Regions from separate parts of the Homo sapiens genome. Here region 1 is linked to region 2. The links are contacts of gene promoters, found by promoter capture Hi-C in blood cells and fetal thymus (Javierre and others, 2016). All regions are on one chromosome and are shown on one strand. Each heading gives the region's core, a stretch centred on a gene start or on the middle of the fragment in contact. The rest is flanking DNA. Distances are from core to core; before and after follow the strand shown.

Evidence for each region. The method cuts DNA at HindIII sites, captures the fragments that hold promoters and counts their contacts. A CHiCAGO score of 5 or more calls a contact.
Region 1: a fragment that was not itself captured here is called in contact with the fragment with the promoter of ATP1A1-AS1 in region 2 in 1 of 17 cell types (M2 macrophages); the score reaches 5.1 in M2 macrophages.

What each region holds. Positions count from the first base shown.
Region 1 is chr1:116,492,369-116,499,330 of GRCh38, reverse strand. It overlaps LOC112268235 (a long non-coding RNA gene), which reads right to left. Exons shown (of 2, transcript XR_002958352.2): 1 at 5,838-6,962. Among named protein-coding and RNA genes, the nearest start is that of LINC01762, 17 kb to the right of the region's middle. RefSeq lists an enhancer at 197-296. The HindIII fragment of the contact is 1,376 bases long and covers 1,351-2,726 here.
Region 2 is chr1:116,412,715-116,420,286 of GRCh38, reverse strand. ATP1A1-AS1 (ATP1A1 antisense RNA 1) reads left to right here and starts at 1,665. Exons shown (of 3, transcript NR_027646.1): 1 at 1,665-1,828. It also overlaps the pseudogene RNU6-817P. RefSeq lists a silencer at 1,457-1,586 and enhancers at 1,546-1,840, 4,022-4,523. The HindIII fragment of the contact is 1,476 bases long and covers 1,060-2,535 here.

The sequences.
Region 1 (6,962 bases), core at 789-3,288, 79 kb before region 2:
ATGTAATAATCTTGAACACACCCAGCTTCTGGGAGCCTGGAAGGTGTTTGCCGAGCTGCTTTTAGGGACAGTGATACCAGCAATATCCACTGGGGGTCTCTCTCATACAAATAATGGCATAGCTGTTCCCAGCAGTTAGAGGAAATGGCAGCCCTGGGACCTGGGGGGATCCAAGGGCAGTCCACGTCTCCATGGGAAGATGGCAGCAGCTCTGTGGCTCTTCACAGTGAAGTGACGACCTGTTGTTAAATGTTTAACAGAAGCCAAACTTGGCTTTTAGGGGACAGCTCTCCTGCCAGCCAGCCAGCTTGCCAAAGGAATCTTTCCTGTGCACAGAGAGCACACTGGGCTTGGAGACATTCTCTGCACAGTGGGATTTGGTGAGAATCTTAAGAGTTTCTGTTCAAGGTCAGTTTGTCTCTCTCAGACCGTGGCACCAAGGAACCTGCTGCTACCCTACTTGATGGGGCTGAACAGGAGATATATTCCACGCTTCACAATTGCCACCTTTCGGGAGCGGCTTCACCAGGTGAAGAAGCCCTGGTTTAGAGATGAGATCTGGGTTTGGGTTCTGGTTCTGCCCCTCATTAGCCATGTGACCTTGAGCAAGCCTTATCCTTTCTCGTTCTCGGTTTCTTCATCTGTAAGATTAGGAATACTCATCTCTAATACTAATCTCAAAAATTGTTTTGAGTGTTAAATAGGAACGAATGCATATGAAACTTTAGAGAAGGGCTTGGCAGATGTTTTCTATGAAGGGACAGATAGAAACTATTTTTGGCTTTATTGACCTTACAGGCTCTGTCTCAACTACAGAATTCCACGATTGTAGTAGCGTGGAAGCAGCCATAGGCAATTCATCAAGAGATCAGCAGGGCTGTGTCCACTAAAACTTTATTTTACAAAAACAGGCAGTGGGCTGGGTCTTGCTCATGGGCTGTACTTTGCCTATCCTCACAGCCTGTTTCTGTGAAGCCCGTGAGCTCAGGATGGTTTTATGTTTCTAAAGGGTTGTAAGGAAAAAACAAAGAAAAGGTGACAGTGCCCAGAGCGAGTATTTACCACCGGCTTCTTGGAGAAGCTGGCTGGCTCCGCTCTAGAGCATTGCAGGAAAGTCAGCCCAGGAGGCAGGCAGCTGTGTCCCTGAGTATCAGGGGGCCTGCCTGGTAAGTCACAATGAAACAGACAGTGGCCAGATGACCCCTGGGCCCTATCCAGCTCCAGGGGCTAGGGTCCACATGACTCTGATGACCGAGCTCAGGGGCTAGAGGAGGGAAGGGAAATGGCCCCCTAGTTCTCTTTTCAGTTGTCTATTTCAGATGGTCCTTATGAAAGAGGATCAGCAAAGCTTCCATCAGAAAATGAACCAATAATCAAGTGAATGGGGCTTTCGTTTCCTGAATTGTCTCTAGCCTGTGAGGCTGTGCTTCCATATGGAACTTCTGAGTTCTCTACGAACTCGAACAATGAGTCATGGGCGAGCCCAGGACTCCCACCCACTTGGAGTCATGGGGCTCTGACATGGAGACAAGACCACAGGGTTTCTGTCAGGCCAGAGCCCTGACCCCTCAGCTAAGATGTTTCTTCTTTGTTCTAGATTCAGTCATATAAGCAGAGGCAGCAGGTACTAGGCCTCAGAGTAATAGTCCCTGAAGAAAATAAAGAGAAAGTCTGTCTGAGAAAAGCCAGTTGTGCCAGTTAAAGAATGACCTATGGCCACAATGCCTTACTGGAGGGTGCTTGGGAGCCCATGTCCTCATGTCTGTTGTATCGGGTTAGGGAGATCCTGGTGCATTTCAGTGGGGAGGGGGTTGCTGCTGGTCGTGTTTTCACTCCTTCTCTCTCCTTCCCCAGTGACCCCAAGACAAAATGCTGTTAGGTAAGTGGGGTCTGCTTAGCCCCACTAAGTTCCCCCATCCACCATTAGGAATCAGTGGTATTGTTATAGTCTACCAGGACCGACCTGGTGCTGCTCAGAACCAGGGGCTCAAGGCAGGGCCTCCCTTCATCTTCTTAAATTATTCTCTAGCAGCTCTGAGTCTCCCAAAGATTGGTCCTAGAGAAAAGACTATGTCATTTACTGCTTTTTCTGATGGTAAAAACATGCATATTTACTGCAGAAAATTTGAAAAATAGAGAAATGTGTAAAGAAGAAAACGTACAAAATAACTTTAGACTCAAAACCAATCTGATTAAATCAGGAAATCATTATTTATTGAGCACCTACTATGTGCCAGCCACTGTTGTTCTTGGTGCTGGGGACATAGCAGTGAAAAAAAAACAAAGTCCTCCCCTTCGTGGAGCCTATATTTCAGTAGGGACAGTCAGTACAGTACAGGAAGGGGCTGGGCTGATGGAACAGGATGCCTTTTTTGATAGGGTGGTCAGGACAAGAGGAAGCAAGGGATGCAGCTATTTGGGGAAGAGTGTTTCCAGCAGAAGGAAGAAGACCTGCCCAGGTGTCGGATAAGAGCCTGCTTGGTGCATTCAGGGATACGAAGGAGGCCAGCGTGGCTGAGATGAGGTAGGGGCAGCCGGGGTGAGAACAGGTGGGACTTGCCGGCCATGAAGAGGACCTTGGATTGCTGTTGAGTGAAATGGAAAGCCAAATGTAGGGTCTTGAACAGAAGAGGGACATGATGAGCCTTATGTTTTGAAATGATCATTCTGGACACCAGATGGAAAATAGACAGGGGCTGGGGGTGGGGTTGGCAAGGGGAGAAGCTTGGAAGCCATTTGGTTATTGCGAAAGTCACACAAAGCTGTGAAAGCAGAGCTGGCCTGGTTGAAGGAAGGGTGGAGGTGGGGGGAGGGCCGGCATTTCCTCCCACTGAGCCTCTGCCCTTCCCTTTTCCTGCTCTCTGAGGTTCCACCATGGGACCCCAGGGTACCTAGGATTACAATTTGAAAGCTATTGGACTAGAGGTTCTCTAAGGGCCCTTCCAGCTTTGCCTCCTGTGCTCTTGTGTTTCAGGACCATGCTGATTCTGTGGGACCAGGCCCGGGCTCTACCAGCCAGGCCTCTGAACATGTCAACTTGAGAACTGAACAGGTTCAGGGTCTAGGAAGGGGAGACATTTCAAAATTTTAATTAAAAAATATTTTTAACGTTTAAATTTTTGTAGAGACAGGGTCTTCCCATGTTGCCCAGGCTGGTCTCAAATTTCTGGGCTCAGGTGATCCTCCCGCCTTGGCCTCCCAAAATATTGGGATTACAGACATGAGCCATGAGATTTGGAAACTTAATTCAGCTCCCACATACTAAACGTGGCCAGCCCTGTGTGGGGATTGTAAGAGGGGATAAGTAAGAGGAAATGTCTGCTCCAAGAAACTCACTGGCTGGGATGGGAACTAGGGAATCACACAAATGGCCCAGCCCAAAGTCTGAGAGGCCCCGGCCCCTCCCTGCCTGGCCTTTTTTCCATGTGGCCCCTGAGCCAGTGGTTCCCAAACTGGGCAGGTCATGGGGTCATCGAGGAACTTCAGAATATGCAGATGCCCAGACTGTGCCCTCAAAGATTCAAATTCAGTTAGTCGAGGGTGGGTGGGGCCTGGGAATCTGTTCAGACAAAGGCCTGGCCTGAAGCCTGGGCTGGAGGGTTCAGTCCAGACAGAAGAACAGAGACTGATGAGAGGGCTTCTGCCAGCTTCACCAAGCCCGTGCTAGGCAGGATGTGGAAATCAAGCCTGTCTTCCAGTGGGGCACGGGGGTGGGGAGCTGGAGGAGGGGGTGGCAGCTCCTTTATCAGCTGTCCCCATCAGAGGCCCTTCTCCCAGGAAGGAATGTTTAAAAAACTCCCAGGAAGGAATTGCTGGGTTTGGAGACTATGAGAATTCCCCATCTCCCCCAATCTCCTCAGCCACCTCAAATCAACCAGCCCGTCTCCCCATGTTTGGGTTAACTCCTTATTGGCTCGGAATGTCTCGCCTGGGTTGACTACTGATCTGTGAGATCGCTTAGTGGCCTGAAATATTTCCAGAATACAAGCAACACTGACAAAAATATTCTTGTAGGGCCCCACAAATCTCACTGAGAAAGAACCCCTACAGGTGGAGAGGAGTGTGGGGTATGCAGACTGGAAGGTGGGACCCTGATTCATTCCAGAACTGGAAGGAAATCAGACATTTCCAAACAGGAGAGAGATGGGAAGCCGGAGGAAGGAGCAGGAGGAGGGAAGAGAATGAATCTTATGTGAATGAATGGTAATTTTCTCTCAGTTACTGGGAAGAAAAAAAAATAACAAAATCAGACCTTGGTCTGGTCCACTAAAAAGAATTCTCTGAGTCAGACTTCTTTCATGGAAGTTGTGAACTTTATCCTCTGGCAGCCATTTATCTAATATTAAACCCCTTAACCTTCCTAATTGTTCTCTTTCAGTATCAGCTGGTTTCATATTAACCTTTCAGTCTTTCCCATAATGCAGTTACCTCCAACTCCCGCCAGACCCAATTCAGAGCTGCCATCAGGTCAGACCTTTGCCTGCTCTTGGCAACACGTCCCCCTGTCCTGCTCCTCTGCAACCTGCCCCTCTTTTTCTTCATGTGCTGTGAAGGCACCATGTGGATGGGTGTTCAACTTCTGGATTGGGGATGCACAGAGCCTGAGGGACACACTTTGCAAACCTGCACCTTGCACTTTTGGGTTCTGGCCTGCAAGGTCTCCTTTATTCTTTTGGACCAAGGCTGTCCCTGGGAGAGGGCAGCCGCCGGCCTGTCAGAGCAAATCAGCCTCAGGCGGTTTCTGCGGCTCTGGTATTTGAGCTTTGTTTTCCCTCTCTCCCGGGAAGAACTCATTGAAATAGTTTCTCTGGGAAAGACAAAGCGTCTCGCCCAGATGCTGAAGGATCACTTGGTAACTGCCTGTCTTGGTTTCCCGTTGTGCCCATGAAGGCGCCATCAGCTCTAAAGCTGACCTGTGGTTCCGTCTCCAAACAGCTAACCCAGACGTCACCCCCTTGCAGCCAGCCGCACAGCCTGAGTTGGAGTTCTGGCCTCTCCTAGCAGTGAGTGACAGTGTTGGAGGGGCCTTGGACACCTTGGGTAATTGCTAACTAAATATGAGCAGTAGGGGAAGGTCTTCTGGTCCACGGCAGAGCCAACGGGGCACTTCCTCTTCTCTTTTCTAGTCAGGGTAGAAAGCTAGAAAGAATCCTAAAAATCACTATCCAAGTCCCCATTGTGTGGGGACAGAGGCCTGGCCTGAAGCCTAGGCTGGAGGGTTCAGTCGGAAGCAGAAGCCGGGAGACTGCATGAGAGGGTTCCTTCCAGCTTCACCAAGCCCGTGCTGCGCGGGATGAAGAAAGTCAAGCCTGTCTTCCAGTGGGGCCCTGAGGTGGGGGAGCTGGAGGATAGGGTGGCAGCTTTTTTATCAGCTGTCCCCAAAAGAGGCCCTTCTCCCAGTTGCCACGGACCAAAGCTCCTCCTGGGAGCTCCAGCCTGTCTGTTCAATGTTTGCCTTGCGCCTTTTCCTGGTGAGGCCACCCCCGGCACCATCTCAGGCCTCAGAAGGACGACCTCACTGAAACAGCCCTTAGGTTGGGAAAGAAGCAAGCCCTCCGCGCCCCGTCCAAGTCTCTCAACTGGGCACGAGCACACACAGACGCCCAGGCCCTGTCCCTGCGCCAGAATGGCCGCTCGCGTTTCCAGGCACGATGCCCCTTTCCATGAGTGCACAGAGCCCTGGGCTGAGCTGGGGGCCGAGCTCCACGCTCTCTGAGCAGCTCTGAGCGGCACGCCAAAGAAGGTCTTTCAGATGGGCTCTGGGATGTGGAACCATGGCGTCCAGCCCTAGCGTCGACTCCACACTAGAGGCACCCTGACTTTCGCCCCCTTCTTACCTGAGTATCAGCTTACTTCCATCTGGGGACTGAATATGGGGCAGATTCCAGAAAAAGGAGGTTGGGGCACCAAAACCAACACCAACTCTGCCAACGGAGCCAGCACAGCTATTTGTCTCCAACCACAGGCCGCAAGGGAAGTTCACGGGCTCGGCACCCCCAGGTCCCGGATGTAAGGATATTGCCCGTTAGACAAAGGAAAGGCCCCAAGTCCACAACTCATGTTTGTGAGCTTAACCTTGTCCTATAAAGCACTTTGGAACAGGCCCAGGTTCTCCCACCATGTACAGCTGCCATTGACCTGGACAGTCCCGCAAGGTCCTTCAGTGGAAACCCAGAAGGGAGAGTCACTGCATGTGAACCCTAAGGGTTCTGGAGGTCAAAGTTGCTGTGGGTGACAGGCAACCAAGACTAAGGGCAAACTTGAAACATAAATGAGTTAAAACCCACAAAAATAAGACAGTTTTAAATAACTAAACTGTTTTCTCATTCTTCCTTTTTCATCTGAGGACGTTTTAGGCAAATGAAGCTTTAGAGTTTTTCTCCTTTCATTGGGTTGACAGTGTTTAAAATTATATCCAGAGCTGTCTAATTTGCCTATTGCTCTAGGCATACTGATCCTCAGGAGGTAAGATTGGATGGGTTAAAGTGGACAGGCTCAGGGGCTGAGACTGTCCATCTCTCTGAGAGTCGGGGGCAGCATTTATCAGGGGCCTGTGGTCAGCCAAGCTTGGCTTGGGCTCTGTGGGAAGATAAAACCAACTGGCCCAGATGGACTTCTGTGGGGCCTGGATACTGTTGGGAAGATAAAGCACATAAGCCCGGTAAGAAAAAAAAAAAAAAAAAAAAAAAAAAGCCCAGGAGAAGGAATGCAAGTGATTCCAATGCAATTGAATTAAGTACAAACTCACTAGGAATGGGGGGGGGGGTTTGATTGGCGAAGGGGTTAGTCAGGGGTGGTTAACCACAGAAGATTGAGGAGGTGAACTTTAAGTTGGACTTGGAGGTAGAAGAGAGAAGTTAGGGGAAGCATTTGTTTTATATTTGGGTGGGGTGCGTGGGAGTGTGGATAAGTGAAGTGTCACACACACACACACACACAACTTTGAGTAGGAAGAGGGTCAA
Region 2 (7,572 bases), core at 416-2,915:
ATAAGTGGCTCCCCCACTCAGGGTCACCAGAAAAATCCTAACCCGTGAGAATCTTCCTACCCTGTTTTCTGATGTCTGAAGTCCCAGGGCACAAAATTTTCAACTTCAAGCTCTGATCCCAATTAAATGTAGACACTCTCAGAAAGGGTCACTATCTCTTAATGAAACTGCATTTTAGCCGGGCGCGGTGGCTCACGCCTGTAATCCCAGCACTTTGGGAGGCCGAGGCGGGCGGATCACAAGGTCAGAGATCCAGACCATCCTGGCTAACACGGTGAAACCCCGTCTCTACTAAAAACACAAAAATTAGCCGGGCGTGGTGGCGGGCGCCTGTAGTCCCAGCTACTCAGGAGGCTGAGGCAGGAGAATGGCGTGAACCTGGGAGGCGGAGCTTGCAGTGAACGGAGATCGCGCCACTGCACTCCAGCCTGGGCGACAGAGCGAGATACCGTCTCACAAAAAAAAAAAAAAAAAAAAAAAAAGTGCACTTTAGATGTTTTCCTGGTGGGGGGGGGGGGGAGTGGGATATAAGTAGCAGTGTTCCAAGTACCAAAACCTCCCTGAGTCATCTGTGAAAAGCCATTTGGCAATAATACTGAAAGCTTTTAAATGCTCACATTCTGACTTAGCAGTTTCACTCCTGTGAATATAACCTAAGGAAACTGATCTCAATACTGAAAGGACTTTATACACAAGAATGGGCTGGGCAGCAAAGTGCTGTAATCCCAGCACTTTGGGAGGCCGAGGCCGGGTCGAGGGAGAAGCACCTGAGGTCAGAAGTTCGAGACCAGCCTGGCCAACATGATGAAACCCCGTCTCTACTGAAAGTACAAAAATTAGGTGGGCGTGGTGGCAGATGCCCGTAATCTCAGCTACTCAGGAGGCTGAGGCAGGAGAATCTCTTGAACCTGGAAGGCGAAGGTTGCAGTGAGCTGAGATCGCGCCACTGCACTCCAGCCTGGGCGACAAGAGCGAGACATCGTCTCAAAAAACAAACAAACAAACAAACAAACAACCAAACAAAACAAAAAAGAATGAATAATTTATAATCGTGAAGCTTTGGAAGCCACTTGAATGTTGAACATTTGCGAGATGCTCAGAGAAGTGACAGCGTATCAACCCAATTTTTTAAAGTCCTGCCATTAAAAATTATAGGTAGGAAGCGTCAGTACTAACACGGTGAAAATGTTCATGTTACAAAGTGGAAAACAACCCTGGATTCAGTTTAGTATGTGCGTTTTACCACAGCTATGTAGAAACAAATCCATACACATGGAAATCGAATGAAGTGAAACGCATGCAAATGGTAATGATGCTGTGCTTGGAGGCAGAATTGGAAGCAGTGTTAAAGTTATTTATCATCATTCGTGTTTTTAAAATGCCGTGTGATGGCCGCAATACTTCTGTAACGAATGATGTTTAAGCACGGAGCCCTTCACTGGCCGACGCGCGGGTGGGAGATAGGAGCCGCGCCCAAGCTCAGGTGGCGGCTGCGGGCAGGGCCGCCTGGGGCCGCAGCCGGGCGCGCTCCCGGCGGGGACCCTCTGCTCTCCTTGCAGACGGAGGCCGCGCCGGGTTTGGAGGCATCCCACAGCCTCAGGCCGAGGACCCGCCGCGAAGCGCCGCCTCCGCGGGTTGACCCTCTGCAGCCGCCGTAGCGCAGAGACGAATCCGCGCTCCCCCAGGCTGTCGCGCGAGCTCCCCGGAAGCTCCCACCTGAGCGGCGCATCCTCAGGGCCTGGGCCTGGCCTCCTTGCCTGTGAGATGGCACTGTGACGGTGCCCACCTCGTGGGGTGTGTGAGGGCCGAGTGAAATCGTGCATTTGCGGTAAGAAAGTGCTTATCACGGTGCCCAGTCCTAATATGGGCTGCCAGCCTAAGTACAGAGTCCCAATCCCAGCCCAAAGGCCAGTTTCCAGGTGAACCCTTGTCGGGGAGACCACCAGACGGAACAGTCCCAGTCTACACTCCTGCACCGAGCAGGGGACAGTGTGGACCGCAGAGAGGTCCGAAGTCCCTTTAGAATAAGGATGGTGCTTCAGGGTTGTTAAAAGGATTAAATGAGATGATATCTAAAGGGATTAGCACAGTGGCTGGTGCTAAAATAAATCATTTTCTCTACTGCCACTGCTCTTACAACCAGACGCCTGGAACAGCCTGCTGGTTCGTCTCCTCATTTGTAAGCTGGAGTTAGTAGGTGTGTTGTGAAGGTTGAGAGAATATGCATAGGCAGAACCTGGCGTTTAATATTTGGGAAGTGGCAGCAATTCTTTCTTCATTAATCTACAAGCTGCACTGTGGTAGGCACATACCCTTAGCACCGATTCTTATAAGTGCAGGTAAGAGAGAGAGAAGATATATTGTGTAAGTCGAAGGAGCCAGCCGTGTCCAGGCCACCGCAAAACCTCGACAGTACTGTACCAGGGCCCTCTTCAGTGAATGAATCTCCTCTTTGGCCTGTTTGCTGTCTGTTTGCATTTGCTGCACCCATCAGTTCCCAAACCTGGTCTCTAAAGTCAGGAGCTCAAGGAAGCTTGTCCCAATCCTAGAAAACAAGTACAGCACACACCAACAGCAGCATCCCTAAAAGCCAGCCCTACTGGCAATGCGGGCCCTGCAACCCGTAGGTAAGTGGGACACTCTAAGCTTCTTGGAAACAGCTAACTCAGGGCCTGATTAGCTTACTCCCGCCTCCTGTCTTCAGGAAATCAGACTGTGTAAAATAAGAGAGAAAAGAAAATTGACATAAGTCTATTCCACTGTCTAATGAAATGTGTTTCACTTGTGTTTAAAGTGAATTGTGGGCTGGCGTGGTGGCTCATTTGCCTATAATCCCAACACTTTAGGAGGCCAAGGCAGGCAGATGGCTTGAGCTCAGAAGTTTGAAATCAGCCTGGCAACATGCAAAAACCCCATCTCTACAAAAAATATAAAAATTAGCAGGATGTGGTGGCGCATGCCTGTAGTCCCAGTTACTCTGGAGGCTGAGGTGGGAGGATGGCTTGAGCCTGGCAGGTCGAGGCTGCAGTGAGCTGTAATCATGCCAGTGCACTCCAGCCTGGGTGACAGTCAGGTCCTGTCTCAAAAAAAAAAAAGTGAATTGTAGTACCAGCTACATTTGTAGAGCCCTTTCTCTTTACAGTCATGGTGCTAAATTCTCTGATCTCATTTAATCCTCCCAACCACCCTCACAATGCTGTGTCCATTTTACATATTGGAAAGCTAAGACTCAGGTTAAGAGAGACTTGTTGAAGGTCACAGCTAGTAAGCTGCAGAGAACCAGAAAGTGAATCTGGGTTGATCTTGACTCTAAACAGTTTGCTTTTAACAACTATACTCCTTTGAACATATTTACCCTATTTTCTTCATTAAGTAAAATGTTTTCTGTATCTTAATTTTCAGAACCTCTAATACAACATTTTGCAGAACGTATTTTCTAAGTATCCCCGATCCCCGCAATCCAGGCTGCCTTCTGTAACCTTTTAGTCATTGCAAACACATAGTAGATGCATGCTGAATTTGTGAGCTTGGCACCACACATGACAGGCTTTGGTTAGGGAATTCAGCTGCAAGCAACCAAACCCTCAGAGCCAAAGCCAGGGGTGCTAGGACCTCTGGCCCTGCAGTGGCCCTGATATGGCCTTTGTGTCCTGCCTCAGAGGCCTTTCTATCCCCACAGTTACTGGGACAAAATGTCCTATGCTTTCACCCTTATGTGGCTCCAGATGTAGGATTTAATTTTTTAGAAATCTGCAATACTGCAGCAGAAATGTAGTTATGAGTCAGGGATGTGTATGTGTGTGTGTCTGTGTGTGAAAGCCAGTCTCTCAGCACCAGCTAAAAATGTGAAGCAGCAAGTCTGTGCTGGGAATTGAGGACACCATATGCTTGCATTTCTAGGTCTTCCTAAGAGTTATATAACTGCCCCTAAAGCCAGGGGGCAGGAGCAGGGCCAGCCGTGGGAGACGTTTCCAAAGAGGAATGCTGAGGAAGGACTGACCTTGAGGAGACAGGGAGTTTGCCAGGCTGTGGAATGTTCCCAGCCTTGGGGCTTAAACAAAAACTGTATTCAGAGGGTGAGTGCTCTGTTGAGAACAAACCCTATCTGTCTCCTGCTTTGTCTCCGGAGCTTATCAAGGTGAGCCCTTTCTCTGCAGGTTCTGGATATTGAATTTAGAGGTGGGCACAGCTGCCAGAGCAAGGCCCTAGTAATCCTCCCAGCCATCTCTAATTAGCCGACTTCAGGGCCCTCCCCCCCCCCAACCCTTCTGTGTCCTGAGGGTCAGGCAGAGGGGAGATAAGAGCTCTCATCTATTCATAGAATAAGGTTGCAGAAAGGCACCCTGGGAGGAGAGCTGTGGGAGGGAACACAACCAATCAACAAAGGTTTATCAAGGGCTCACTCTGTGGTCACACTTGGGGGAGGGAGGTATCTGATTGGCCCCATCCTGCTGAGGGCCTCTGTACAGTATTCTTTCCTAGAAAACACCCTCCCCACCATCCTCGCTCCCCACTGCAGATCTTACTTGACTAAAGCCCATTATTCTTACAGGCCTCAGTTCAGAGGCCTGAGACCTAGAGCAATGTTTTTCAAACTGTGGGTCATGACCCATTAGTAGCTTGTGTAATTAATTTAGTAGGTTACATTGAGCATTACCGTCCCCCACACCCTCCAGAAAAACAAAGACAAAAAGATTAAAGGAAATAGAAAAGAGGCTATCTGAGCACATTAGACACCATGAAGTTAAGTGCTGTTTGTTATGTGGATGCGGGATCATGATATAAAAAGCCAAATTCTTACTGGTGATTGCGATTAAAAAAAAAAAAAAGATTCAAAAACCCCTGGCTTAGAGGCTGCATCTGTCCATATCCTTCTCACTGCAAGTGTCAGAAATCCTGGCTCAATCTAACTTAGATGAGGAGGACATTTATTATCTCACTTAAAGGGAAGACTAGAGGTGATGCAGGCCCCAAGGTGGTTAATACAGTGGCTTAACTCTGCCACCAACAGTACCATGCCTTCATGGTGGGTTTTATCCTCAAACTGGTAGTAAGATGGTTACAGAAGCTCCATGTCATATCCAGAGAACACTCAGCGGGAGGAGAGACAGAGACTAGATCTTCTTGTGTCTCTGAGGAGTGAAGAAATTTTTCTTGGAAGCCCTCTGGCTGAATTCACTATGTTGTAGAGAATTGGTCACAACTGTATTCCTAAATCCATCACTGGCAAGGGGGTATAGGAGTCTCATGAGTAGATGAGACTGAGCAGGAGATCCCCCTGGAGCTGAAGGTGGGAGAGAAAGGCGGATACAAAAGTGATCAAAAAGTAGGACCAAATGACAGAATGGGAAAAGATGCTTGCAGTGTCTAAAACTGACTAATATCTAGAATACACAAGGAATTCCTACAAATCAGGAAAAAGACAGCAACCCCATAGAAAAATGAGTAAAAGATATGAACATGCCATTTATGGAAGAATTAACCCTAAAATCTTACAAAATATGATAAAATGCTCAAAATCATTGTTAATCATCAAAAATATGAATTTAAATGAGACTTTACATAGACTGAAAACAATTATTAATAGAAACCTGCGAGGTCTGAGAAAATTAAAAAAAAAGAAAAAAAGCCAGCTGGACAATTCCAGTGATTGGCAGGGTGTGCAGACATGGGAACCTCACGCTGCTGGTGAGACTGTGGACTGGTGCAGCCATTCTGGAGGGCAGTCTGGTCTTCTTGGTGAAATTATGTAAATGAATATATCATGTGACCCACAGTTCTGTCCCAGGAGAAATTCTCACAAAGGCCAGGAGAAGACCTGTGTGAGGATGCTCCTGCAGTCTTATTAGTGGTGGAAGGGAGTTGCCCACCAACTGAGTGTCAATTATTGTGAAAAATAATAGGTCACATGTGGGGCGTGCACACAAAAAGCACTGTGTAGCAGTTAGAAGCAACTGGAGTATCATAGGAAGGATCAGGAGTACTCATAGCAAAAAAAAAAAAAAAAGAAAAAAAGAATCTACTTGGTGGTTATGAGTTTTTTGGAAAAGTCATTTTCTGTTGAACATGCATACTGAGATGTATAATGGGTGAAACCATGTCTGGGATTGTCTTAAAATACTTCTGAAAGAAAGAAGTAGGGATGGAGAGGAGAGACTAGATAAAACACAATTGGCAAAATGTTGGTAAAATTGTTCAAACTACATGATGGCTACATGGAAGTTTGTGATATTATCTTCTCTACTTTTGTGTACCTTAGAGAATTTTCATGATAAAAGTTTAAAAGTACATACACACACACAAAACAATACCCATGTTGCAAGAACACATTGAAATAAGAAGATAAACATTAAAATGGTTGGTTACCTTTTAGGAGAAGAAAGGAAGGAGAGCTGAGTGTGGTGAAAAAAGTGAAGAGTGCTGGCTTTGGAAGCATGTATGCTAAAATTGGAACCACACAGAGATGACCATGACCCCTGTGCAAGGATGCTGTGCAAATTCATGAAGCATTCCGTATTTTTATAAGTAAATAAATGGAAAAAAGTGTAAAGAAAAAAGATCCAGAAAAATTGGGATACCCCAGTGGAGCATGGGATGGGTAAAGACCAAGGGGAGGGCATGTACATTTGGCAGGCAACCAGCAGGGCCTGCCCGGAGCCCATCCTTATTTTCCCCAGGAGCCTCCTCCCAACCCCTGAGGCTTGGTTAGGCTCCACCTGTGGTTTTCTGTGGTACCAGGGGATTTTCCTCTTCTGGCACTTACCACACATCCTCTTAAGACCTGCTCATTGCACTGTCTTCCCCACCAGACTGTAACAGGGAGTGGGCCTATGTGTTTGTTTTGCTCAATTCCATTCCCCCAGCATGTGGCACATGGTCCACCATTCTGGGTGTGCTCTAAAATCCGTTGAGTGAAAAACAGTAGCCAGTGTTTGTTGAGTATTATCTCACTTTATTCTCAGAACTCTATGAAGTAGGAAATAGTATTTTCACCCGTTTGATTAACAAGGAAATGGAGGAGGCTCAGAGAGGTTAAGTGACTTGCCTAAAGTCAGAGCTAAAGTATGGCAGAGCAAGATCCAGGCAGACCAGCTGCCATTAGAACCAGTGTTCTCAATCCCTGCACCATACTATCTTGAAGAGGGATGGAGGCCAGTGGTGTCGAGGAGAGAAGCTAACACACTTGAAATATTTTTCAGTCAACATCAGACACTCCCAAACCAAGAGCTAATGTGGTACAGACTCTGGGAGCTGTGTGGTAGAGAACGGAGTGGAGTGATCAGAGAGATAGGGAACATTGGAAAAGAGATTAATAGAATGTGATAGAAAGTGATTACAGTTGAATCCAAAAGCATCTTCCCTAAATTGTCATGGGGTTGAGATGGTAGGCTGAGGCCCAGCCCACCCCTATGGGGGTGTCTCTTGCCTTCTAGGTAGTTCTTAATTAGTGGTTCTCAACTGGGGGTGATTTTGCCTCCAGCGGACGGACATTTGATAGTATCTGAAGACACTTTTCCTTGTCACAACTGGAGGGAGAAGGGTGGCTAATGACATCTAGTGGGTAGAGCCCAG